Linked DNA regions of Homo sapiens: all the other regions are linked to region 4. Evidence: promoter capture Hi-C in 16 types of primary human blood cells and fetal thymus (Javierre and others, 2016). All regions are on one chromosome and are shown on one strand. The core of a region is centred on a gene start or on the middle of the fragment in contact, and the rest is flanking DNA. Distances in the headings are between cores, read along the strand shown. Region 1 overlaps TEP1 (telomerase associated protein 1). Region 2 overlaps PARP2 (poly(ADP-ribose) polymerase 2). Region 3 has its middle 5.1 kb from the start of RNASE8. Region 4 holds the start of OR6S1 (olfactory receptor family 6 subfamily S member 1).

Region 1 (2,700 bases), core at 186-2,685, 260 kb after region 4:
CCCCGGGTGAGTGTGAGAAGGAGGTGGGTGTCGGGAGGCAGGCTGGGGAGAAGGAGGGATACGGCACGGAGGAGAGAGGCCTCTCCAATGTGGTTCTCCTTTTCTTTCTACCTTCCTGCCCCTTTGCCCAAATATCACAGTGTGTACACCTGGTGCTGAGTGTGTCTAGTGATGCAGGCCTAGGGGAGACCCTTGAGCAGAGCCAGGGTGCCCACGTGCTGGCCTTGGGGCCTCTGGAGGCCTCTGCTCGGGCCCGGCTGGTGAGAGAGGAGCTGGCCCTGTACGGGAAGCGGCTGGAGGAGTCACCATTTAACAACCAGGTTGGGTTCTAGGCCGGGGCCGGTGGGTGTGTGGGGTGAATCTGGGAGCTATGAGGACCTGGGGTGCCGAGGCCGCTAGCTGCCTTGCACAGACCTGCTCCTTTGTTTTCTCAGAAATTCTGTCCATGGGAAGTTGTTAATAAGAAAATTGTGATTCCTGATCATGTCACCCAGCCCTCTTCCCCCGGTGAATGGCCTTTCCAGGGCCTCTCGGGGTGAGGGGATGAGTCAAGTGGTTTTTGGTGGGGTAGGCCGAGCCACAGGGGTTTTCTGGCAGGGCTGGCTGGGCAGAGCAGCGTAGGAGAGGGATGGTTTGTGTCCTGGGATGATGCCATGGACCTGGCGTCTGCTGGGGACTCTCAGAGGAGGAGCTGCCTGGCAGAGGGGCTGGTGCTGGGGCAGAGGGCTGGCTGCGGGCAGCCCTCCTGGACCCCACCCTGAGTCCTGAGTCTTGCCAGATGCGACTGCTGCTGGTGAAGCGGGAATCAGGCCGGCCGCTCTACCTGCGCTTGGTCACCGATCACCTGAGGCTCTTCACGCTGTATGAGCAGGTCAGTTCTCATCACCTTCCAAGTCCTAATCACTACTTCCCATTCTCTCTTCAGCTGCTTTGTCTCATCCCTATCCCACGTCCTTTGCTGTCTTGTGATCACCCACTCCCTATCCTCGCCTCATACCTCGCCTCACTTCCCTCCTACTGTTGTTCTTTACTTTTTCATTCCTCCACACTGTCCTCCTGCTGCCCCTTCCCTATCCCACAAGCCAAGCTGCTTCTCCTCCCACTGCACTGAACAAGGCTGTCCTCCCGCCATCCTAGGTGTCTGAGAGACTCCGGACCCTGCCTGCCACTGTCCCCCTGCTGCTGCAGCACATCCTGAGCACACTGGAGAAGGAGCACGGGCCTGATGTCCTTCCCCAGGCCTTGACTGCCCTAGAAGTCACACGGAGTGGTCAGTGCTTGGGGTGGGTTGGTTGGGAGGCTGAGGGCCAGGGTTCGGATTACATTGGTTCCCTTGGGGTCTCAGCAGGCAGTTCAAGGAGAGACTGGGTGTGGTGGGGGCGGGGACACCGTATGGTTAGATGAGGGCCTCAGAGAGCTTGAGTTTTCAGGTTTGACTGTGGACCAGCTGCACGGAGTGCTGAGTGTGTGGCGGACACTACCGAAGGGGACTAAGAGCTGGGAAGAAGCAGTGGCTGCTGGTAACAGTGGAGACCCCTACCCCATGGGCCCGTTTGCCTGCCTCGTCCAGAGTCTGCGCAGGTACAGGTGCCCCAGCAGAGCTCCCGCTGACCTCTCTGTGCCTTCCCTTCTTTGAGCCGGGGCCCTCTGTATAGCTTCAACAACTGGCTCCCAGACCATGAATGAGCTACTGCTCCAGCTGCTCCAGTTTCCGCTATTTGAGGGGGGAATAGGAGCCCACTGTGTGCCAGGAAGCTCACTGACAGGCCTCTTCCTTCTTCTCTCTCCCTTCCTCACACGAGGACAGTTTGCTAGGGGAGGGCCCTCTGGAGCGCCCTGGTGCCCGGCTGTGCCTCCCTGATGGGCCCCTGAGAACAGCAGCTAAACGTTGCTATGGGAAGAGGCCAGGGCTAGAGGACACGGCACACATCCTCATTGCAGGTGATTGCAGCCCAAGTCAGCCTGGGCACTGAGTGTGGGGCTTGGGCCTGGAGGCCAGGACCACCCACTGTGCTCCCATCTGCTGGCCAGCTCACCTACTGCCCTTGGGAATGATGCAGGGCTGAGCCTTTCTCAATATCTGTTCATGCAGCTCAGCTCTGGAAGACATGTGACGCTGATGCCTCAGGCACCTTCCGAAGTTGCCCTCCTGAGGCTCTGGGAGACCTGCCTTACCACCTGGTTAGTTCCTAGACCCCATAGACACCTTTCCCAAAGTGAGTGCTTTGGTTGCTCTGAGACCCCTCTCCCCGTTACCATCTCCACCATCACCGCCGCCATTACCCCTCCCAAACTCCCTTGACCTCTTTCCTTTCAGTTTTCCTGCCCTTCTTCTTCAAGTCCTTTGTCCCAGCTCAGATCCTATCTCTGTATCCAGGTTCTGAGACTAAACTGTCCCTTCTCACCAGCCCCTTCATATCCCTAATGAATTCAATCTGACCTTCTCAGCTCCAGAGCGGGAACCGTGGACTTCTTTCGAAGTTCCTTACCAACCTCCATGTGGTGGCTGCACACTTGGAATTGGGTCTGGTCTCTCGGCTCTTGGAGGCCCATGCCCTCTATGGTGAGATGAGTCACTGGCTGGGTTCTTCTCTGAGATATGGGACTCCTGGGTGTGCTTATGGGGGCCCTGCTCAGGGTTGGGGCAGGGGTGTGGGTGTCAGGGAAAAAAGATTCAAATTTCCATTTCGAGTTGAAAAT
Region 2 (2,700 bases), core at 144-2,643, 290 kb after region 4:
TGGCTCAAGATTCCCACCCAGTTACTCATCCTGGAACCATGCCATAGAAGCATCCTAAGGAAAAGCCAATATTATTGTACTCTGTTGTTCTGCACAGATAGGCCATAAGCATAAAAAAGCCAACACCTTCCTCTGACTCCCTCTTATAAGTTCTACAGCTGTACTTTCGGGCAAGGAGTGTCTTTCCAAACGCAAAGCTAGACTCAGACCTGTTATGAAGGTCCTCTCTGAAGGCTTCTTTCTCACCATCCTTCTCCACTTCAAACAAATCCAGCAAGGTCATGGTATAGTCGCTGTGTGTGGGAGCATGGGTAGATTGTAGGTACTGGGAAATCACCTGTGAAAAATAAGACAAAAAGGCTGATGTAGACTCTACAAGAGACTGAGCTGAACTGAAGAATTTGGGGATTCTGATATAACTTGGCAGACCTTTCTGCTCCCAAACAGTCTTACAAGGCAGCTAGGAAAAGCTTGGCCTTCCCAAATCCCTAGTACATAAAAAGTCTGCCCTAATTGACAATTTGCTCTTGACAAGAAGTAGTTAGAGAACAGTGGGATGGGGGAGGTGGTTAAGGGTGCAAGAATATGAAAATAAATGATCATTTTTCTTACTTTGAACTCATAACTTTCATGGTCAAGGGGGCGCAAGGCACAATGTAGGTTTCTATAGTGTTGGTCCAATGGGTGTTCTGGGCTTTGTAGCTCTGTTTTCACCAGCTTAATAGCAATTTCAATGTCTCCCAAAGCCTGAGAAGATGAGATATAGAATCAATGTGGGAGGACACTGGTATAAGGGATATAATACTTCTCAAATCATACATATCTCACCTCTAGTAATTGTATTTTTTCTGACAGTTCCTTCTGTGTCCGGATTAGTGGAGGAGTACGGAGTCTAAGAACAGAGATATAACCCATAATGAGCTTTCTGACATGTGGCTAAAAGGCGCATGACTAAAAATAGAAAATGACAGATAGGTCCTTTAGAAAACAGGTATGAGAAACAGGTTTTCCATTTGAGAGAGAAAGAGATCTGTAAAGAGATCTTAACTTCCAAATATATAAAATAATATTAAATATATACTCGGTATAAGATGAACTATGTGGATTTTGACTTTTGAGACTAGAGTTAAAATTATTTTTTATAAAATCATTTAAAAATAAGTTATATTGATATCAACAGGGAACAGTTGGATACAGTTCTATCTAGAAGCACAGGTAGACCTGTTGACCACTCAGGGTTATTTCTAGGTCACGGGGCTCTATAAAGCTATAAAAGAAATAGAAATCGGATGTAAACCAGAAAACAGAATCAACAAATGTAAAATGTTATTTTGTCTATCTAATATCACTTGAGTTCACAGAAATGGTGTTTGTGTGGTTTTAGTTACTCAAATAGGAAAAGGGGGTGATATGCCTGAAGGTGTTTTACTTGGGTGGTTGGATAGCTAGACCCATTCTCTCTTGGGTTGGTAACTTCCACTTTGTCAGAGAATATGGCTGTGGTCAAGCCGGGAGATTGCATCCCATATTTGTAAGCTGATTAAATAGGCTACCTATATATCATTTTGTTTCTGTACCTATTCAAGACGATCATTTTCTTAGGAATAAAAGATTTAAAAGATTATAGCTGCTGCTGATGGATACAGGGGATATGTATAGGTAGAAGAACAAAGTGAAGTAACAGCACAGGCCTTACCCAAAGTCATGCGGAATCCTGGTGTAGAATTCATTGCATGCTTCCATGAGAGCTCGTCCATGCTGGCCAGCCCGAATACAATCCTCAATCTTCTTAAGAGACTGGTAACCTGCCTTGATTTGTGCCACTGTCAGCTTCCCTGCAGGCCCACCCAGAGATCAGACTCCAAACTAGGATCCCATCTAGTGAACTGTACTTAACATCCTTCCCTAAAAAAGACTTTCATCTTTCAACTTTTTTTTTTCCTGTTTTTAAGATGGGGTCTCACTCCTGTTGCCCAGGCTGAGTGCCGTGGCACAAACACAGCTAAATGCAGTTCAACCTCCTGGGCTCCGGTGATCCTCCCACTTCAGCTTCGCAAGTAGCTAGATCACAGGCACACACCACCATGCCTGGCTAATTTTTCTATTTTTAGTAGAGATGGGGTCTCACCATGTTGCCCAGGCTGGTTTCAAACTCCTGGGCTCAAGCAATCCACCTGCCTTGGCCTCCCAAAGTGTTGGGATTATAGGCATGACCCATCACACCCAGCCTCAACTTTCAAAATAGTTCCTCTTCCCTCCATACAACCTGTCACCCCAAATCCCATTTTCTTCATTCAGTACTATGAGCAAGCTTTAAATCATAATGATAATAAAGTATCCATTAAAGGAGCTAGGAATTATAAGGAGAGAATGCAGAAGAAAATGTGAAGTCCTACCAAGTGGGGCTTTCTTGGTATTATACTTCATTTCCATCATCATTTCTTCCATGGCCTGAACATTACAGATCAACTTTATTAACTCCTGTACCCGAAGATCTAGCTGTGACTCTGGCTTCAAGGGAGATTTAAGAGATTCCTCTTTCTTTGTTTCCTCTTCATCCTATAGCAAAAAACAAACAAAACACAAGACAATCTAAGAAATCATCTCTAGATTCCTTATAACACCCAATATTATACAATGTAAATGCTTTGTAAAGTTTTTATATTGCACTGTCTAGGGAATAATGAGAAGCAAGGAAAA
Region 3 (2,700 bases), core at 94-2,593, 420 kb before region 4:
TCAAGTGGTTGTTCACTATTCATTTAGTCACTCTCAATTTTAGGGAATTTATATTATGTTTAACTTTTCTCCATTGTATGAAGAAAAGGTATAAAAAGATTTGTAGAAATGTACTCCTCCGCACTTTGAATTATTCCCATTCGACATATTTTACAAAATGGAATTATTGGGTCAAATGGTAGGAGCCATTTTATAACATTTGTTACTGCCAGATGTGGCAATATGTGGAGGGCAGGGGTCATGAAACACTCTTAAAATATTAAAAAGGTTGATTGTGAAGAGGAATTGGGCTTACTCTGAATGGCTCAAAGCGGTAGGGCATCAGTGAATTGTTGCAGTTATAAAGAAGCAGATTCGGTTCTATGTAAGGGAGTTTTGAATACTTAGAGTTGCCTGAAAATGGGACAAGCTATCTCCATAGGTAAATTCCCTCTCACTGAAAAATTTTAAGCATAATGAGAGAGCTTTTAAAGAAATTGTTTATAAGCTTTCCAGATTTGTGATCTGTACATTTTCCTACCCCCAGCCCTTTGCTCCAAAACCACATTTTGTTAAATGAACATTTATTAAGACATAACCTGTGCCTGTTATAGCTAGCAGTGGCCTCAGCTCTCATTGGCAGACCCCCAGCAGAGTCAGTCTTCTGGAGCAGACAATCTAGGAATTCCAACAGCGTGAAGTCATTCCCATCCTCCAGACTTCAGAACTGCCAAGCAGCGGATAAAACTTTGTCTCTAGTTCCTTGACATTTCCTTTTTTTTTGTACTTAGTGTCTACCTCCAGGTCTCTGCCCATGTTGAACATACGCATAAGACCCCCCAATTACAAAACCTATATCCTTGCCTTGCCTCCAAATAACCCCAAGCCAAATCCAACACCTAAGTGATTGATTCCAAGTAATTGTTACATTATCTTATTTGTGCCAATAGATATTTGCACTTCAGATGAGGAGTTTGGAATCCCAAAAGATCTGTAATTGGCGGAATATAGCACTCCTAATTCCATTAACAGAACTTTACTTCCTCACCCTGAACACGTGTGTGTTTATATACACACACACACATACACACACACACATACACACCACTTTTAGGCAGGCACTCTAATTTACTGAAGAAACTGGTTGCTTAAAATCCGTTTTTTGTTTTTGCTTTTGTTTCCTTTTTGAGACAGGGTCTCGCTCCGTTGCCCAGCCTGGAGTACAGTGGTGAAATCTCAGCTGACTGCAACCACCACCTCCTGGGCTCAAGCAATCCTCCCACTTCAGCATCCCCAGTAGCTGGAACTACAGGCAGGTGTGCACCCCTACACCTGGCTAATTAAAACAATTTTTTTTTTTTTTTTTTTAGAGACAAGGTCTCACTATACTGCCCAGGCTGGTCTTGAACACCCGGGCTCTATTGATCCTCCTGCCTCAGCCTCCCAAAGTGTTGGAATTATAGGCATGAGCCACTGGAACCTGGGAGGTGGAGGTTGCAGTGAGCTGAGATCGCACCACTGCACTACTCCAGCCTGGACAACAGAGTGAGGCTCCATCTCAAATAACAAAACACACACACACACACACACACACACACACACACACACTGTGCCCAGCCTGTTTTGTTTACATTTTAAAAGCTACTCTACTTAGTAAAAGTAGTCTCAAACTCCAAGTTTGGCCAAGGAGGAAAAGTCCCTATAAAGGGTGGAGACCTGACCACAGCCTTTGAGTTTTACTTTTTCTGGGAGTATATTTTGCTGAAATCCTCTGCCACCCCTACACGGGCCTCAGGCAAACCCTGCTCACCTTTCTCAGTTTTTCTAGGATATAATACTCCCATTCCCAAGTCAGAAAAATAACCCAACTGAAGGCAGCACAGTGCAGAGGGAGGAGAATGCTGAGGAGAGACAGAGGTCCAGGTTCCACTCTGAGGGCTCCACTGCCAGTCGCATGCCCTTGAGCCTGAGCCTTGAGCTTCCCTCCCTACTAAACGCCCCAGCAAAATCAACAAACATATTAACACCGGAAAATATAATCACCAAAGCCCACTGTGCAGTACAGATGAAAATATCATAGAACATGAATCGGTCTTGTAGTGTCAATGTGAGTTTTTAAAATGTTTCTTTTGTGTCCAACAAAGAGTATTTAGAGGCTACTTGGCTTTTTAACACTTATGTTTCCTATGTTAAAGTTATAAATCAGCTTCCTTAAGCTTTTATGTTTAACTTACATAGAAATAAATTCTAATAATCACTTTAAAGAATTGTATTCACCGACTATTTGATCTTATTTGTAAGTAGTTAATGAAACTCTTTAAACATTAAAAGAGATATTTTATAAATTCAATATATATTCCATGTCCTTATAAAGTAATTTGGGCATTTGAGCTAACCAGCAAAACATTCCTGAATACTTAAAAACCTTTATAAATCTAACAATTTCTAAATAGGATGATTCAATTTCTATGTTTTCTTACATGATCCAAAACTAATTTTAAAGGAAAGTTTCATTTCAAACCATGTGCATTTTAAATTAGAATGACAAGCCTAATACAAATTCCTTAATACAAACATGTTAACGCTATGTGTTGATTCTTTTAAACATTTCTATACTTAATTCTAAATTTTCTGGATGTTAGAACATACTTACCCACTGGAAAATATTTATGTCCTCCCAAATGGCTGAGGAGCCCCTTCTCAAGTGATTTTTTGGAAACA
Region 4 (2,700 bases), core at 126-2,625:
AGTTTTGTGTCTGTTCCCATAATCTTTCTGTAGCTGCAGGCATACTCCCATTCAGCTTCCCTATCTTAGTGCACCTGAAGGGAAAGAAAGGTGCTTATTAAGGCCCATCGTTTTACTGGGGCCCATTGTATGATGGTGAAGTTTGGCGGTTACCCAAAAGAATTTCCCCTCACCTCCCTCTGTGCCCGAGCTGTCTTATCTGTGTTTTACTGTCTGCTCTTTCTGGCTGCCTGTAGTTAGAAGAGAAGTGATTTCTTTGAAATGCATGAGGCTAGAAAGGGAGCTGAAACTTAAAGTGGCAGTGTTTGTCCAAGACGATGGTGCTCCTGCTCTGTCAAAAGGGAGTAAGGATTCTCCTGATACCTGAGGCATTTTTAAACAAGCTTTCTGGATATAATGGACTTGATTTTTCTAACTGGTGGTGGTCCTCAGAACTGGGAGGACTTGAAGCAAAGAATAAGAATCAAAGAATAAGAACATAATTTTTTATTAATAGTTGCGGTCAGAAATTCATAATTTTGGCTCTGACAAACATCTGACGGGGTTTCACCATGTTGGCCAGGCTTGTCTCAAACTCCTGGCCTCAAGTGATCCGCCCGCCTCGGTCTCCCAAAAGCTGGGATTACAGGCATGAGCCACTGCGTCCTGCCGGAAAGGGTAATTTTATATAATTTCATTAGGTATACTAATGGCCTAGATTCCTGTGACTCATTGTACAGTTGGACAGTTAAAGTACAAATTGATAATCTTCCAAGAGTAATGGCAAGCCAAGCCTAGATTCTGGTGTCCTAACTTATAGCCAGGGGCTTTCTCTGCCATATAATTTTTAAGTTAAGTACTAGACACTCTTAAATTCTTTGCACTATTATATCATTTGCTCCTTACAGCATTTCACAACTGAGGAGCACAGAGAGGGTAAGTAACCTTACCAAGGCTACTCAGCCAGTAAGTGGAGATGCAGGAATTTAAAACTAGGTAGTCTGACTCAAGTTCTGATCCCAGTTGAATGGTAATCATATTCTTCACAAAATCCTTTTTCAGATATTTTTGCCCAACTCAGATGCTCAGTGATATTGTTATTACAATAATGAGGTGTCATTATTTAAGATCTGAGAACAGGATATGTGAAGATGGAGGAGATGGAGGCTCCTGGCATTTTCATACCTAAGTTTTGTTACCCTTTAGAGAAAATCTTCTCTAGTGCTAAAATCAATCAGATGATGACCTTAAGTGCTTCAGATCTTAACAGGACCTGCAATTGGATAAACTGGGGATATGAGTCCCATATCATGATGAAGTAAGTTTCAGGACTGTAAGCAGAGGACCTGCTCTTACCAGGATCATGTTTTTGTTGTTGGACAGGTGAAAAAGACAATGAGTCCTGATGGGAACCACAGTAGTGATCCAACAGAGTTCGTCCTGGCAGGGCTCCCAAATCTCAACAGCGCAAGAGTGGAATTATTTTCTGTGTTTCTTCTTGTCTATCTCCTGAATCTGACAGGCAATGTGTTGATTGTGGGGGTGGTAAGGGCTGATACTCGACTACAGACCCCTATGTACTTCTTTCTGGGTAACCTGTCCTGCCTAGAGATACTGCTCACTTCTGTCATCATTCCAAAGATGCTGAGCAATTTCCTCTCAAGGCAACACACTATTTCCTTTGCTGCATGTATCACCCAATTCTATTTCTACTTCTTTCTCGGGGCCTCCGAGTTCTTACTGTTGGCTGTCATGTCTGCGGATCGCTACCTGGCCATCTGTCATCCTCTGCGCTACCCCTTGCTCATGAGTGGGGCTGTGTGCTTTCGTGTGGCCTTGGCCTGCTGGGTGGGGGGACTCGTCCCTGTGCTTGGTCCCACAGTGGCTGTGGCCTTGCTTCCTTTCTGTAAGCAGGGTGCTGTGGTACAGCACTTCTTCTGCGACAGTGGCCCACTGCTCCGCCTGGCTTGCACCAACACCAAGAAGCTGGAGGAGACTGACTTTGTCCTGGCCTCCCTCGTCATTGTATCTTCCTTGCTGATCACTGCTGTGTCCTACGGCCTCATTGTGCTGGCAGTCCTGAGCATCCCCTCTGCTTCAGGCCGTCAGAAGGCCTTCTCTACCTGTACCTCCCACTTGATAGTGGTGACCCTCTTCTATGGAAGTGCCATTTTTCTCTATGTGCGGCCATCGCAGAGTGGTTCTGTGGACACTAACTGGGCAGTGACAGTAATAACGACATTTGTGACACCACTGTTGAATCCATTCATCTATGCCTTACGTAATGAGCAAGTCAAGGAAGCTTTGAAGGACATGTTTAGGAAGGTAGTGGCAGGCGTTTTAGGGAATCTTTTACTTGATAAATGTCTCAGTGAGAAAGCAGTAAAGTAAAAGTGAAGAGTCTAGTAACTAGTCTTTTTTTTTTTTTTTTTTTTTTTTTTTTGAGAGAGAGAGAGAGAAAGTCTCACTCTGTCGCCCAGGCTGGAGTGCAGTGGCGCGATCTCAGCTCACTGCAACCTCCACCTCCTGGGTTTAAGCAATTCTCCTGCCTCAGCCTCCTGAGTAGCTGGGATTACATGTGCCCACCACCACACCTGGCTAATTTTTGTATTTTTAGTAGAGATGGGGTTTCACTCGATGACCAGGCTAGTCTCAAACTCCTGGCATCAAGTGATCCACCCACCTCAGCCTCCCGAAGTGCTGGGATTACAGGTGTGAGCC

Evidence for each region. Contacts are between HindIII fragments. The CHiCAGO score rates a contact against its expected background, and 5 or more counts as called.
Region 1: a fragment that was not itself captured here is called in contact with the fragment with the promoter of OR6S1 in region 4 in 5 of 17 cell types (naive B cells, naive CD4 T cells, neutrophils and 2 more); the score reaches 7.0 in naive B cells.
Region 2: a contact is called between a fragment that was not itself captured here and the fragment with the promoter of OR6S1 in region 4, in 9 of 17 cell types (total CD8 T cells, non-activated CD4 T cells, naive CD4 T cells and 6 more). The highest score is 7.3, in total CD8 T cells.
Region 3: a fragment that was not itself captured here is called in contact with the fragment with the promoter of OR6S1 in region 4 in 1 of 17 cell types (monocytes); the score reaches 5.6 in monocytes.

Annotation. Positions count from the first base shown.
Region 1 is chr14:20,380,794-20,383,493 of GRCh38, reverse strand. TEP1 (telomerase associated protein 1) reads left to right here. Exons shown (of 55, transcript NM_007110.5): 26 at 1-6; 27 at 141-320; 28 at 779-871; 29 at 1,138-1,270; 30 at 1,431-1,581; 31 at 1,808-1,941; 32 at 2,093-2,181; 33 at 2,449-2,563. Among named protein-coding and RNA genes, the nearest start is that of TEP1, 31 kb to the left of the region's middle. The HindIII fragment of the contact is 2,872 bases long and covers 1-2,700 here.
Region 2 is chr14:20,353,944-20,356,643 of GRCh38, reverse strand. PARP2 (poly(ADP-ribose) polymerase 2) reads right to left here. Exons shown (of 16, transcript NM_001042618.2): 8 at 2,397-2,559; 9 at 1,697-1,835; 10 at 829-892; 11 at 613-747; 12 at 210-337; 13 at 1-54. Among named protein-coding and RNA genes, the nearest start is that of PARP2, 12 kb to the right of the region's middle. The HindIII fragment of the contact is 1,841 bases long and covers 473-2,313 here.
Region 3 is chr14:21,061,596-21,064,295 of GRCh38, reverse strand. It overlaps a transcript of NDRG2 not described here and a transcript of ARHGEF40 not described here. Among named protein-coding and RNA genes, the nearest start is that of RNASE8, 5.1 kb to the right of the region's middle. The HindIII fragment of the contact is 1,708 bases long and covers 490-2,197 here.
Region 4 is chr14:20,640,366-20,643,065 of GRCh38, reverse strand. It overlaps OR6S1 (olfactory receptor family 6 subfamily S member 1), which reads left to right and starts at 1,375. Exons shown (of 1, transcript NM_001001968.1): 1 at 1,375-2,370. The coding sequence starts at 1,375. The coding sequence ends at 2,370. RefSeq lists an enhancer at 1-438. The HindIII fragment of the contact is 1,898 bases long and covers 386-2,283 here.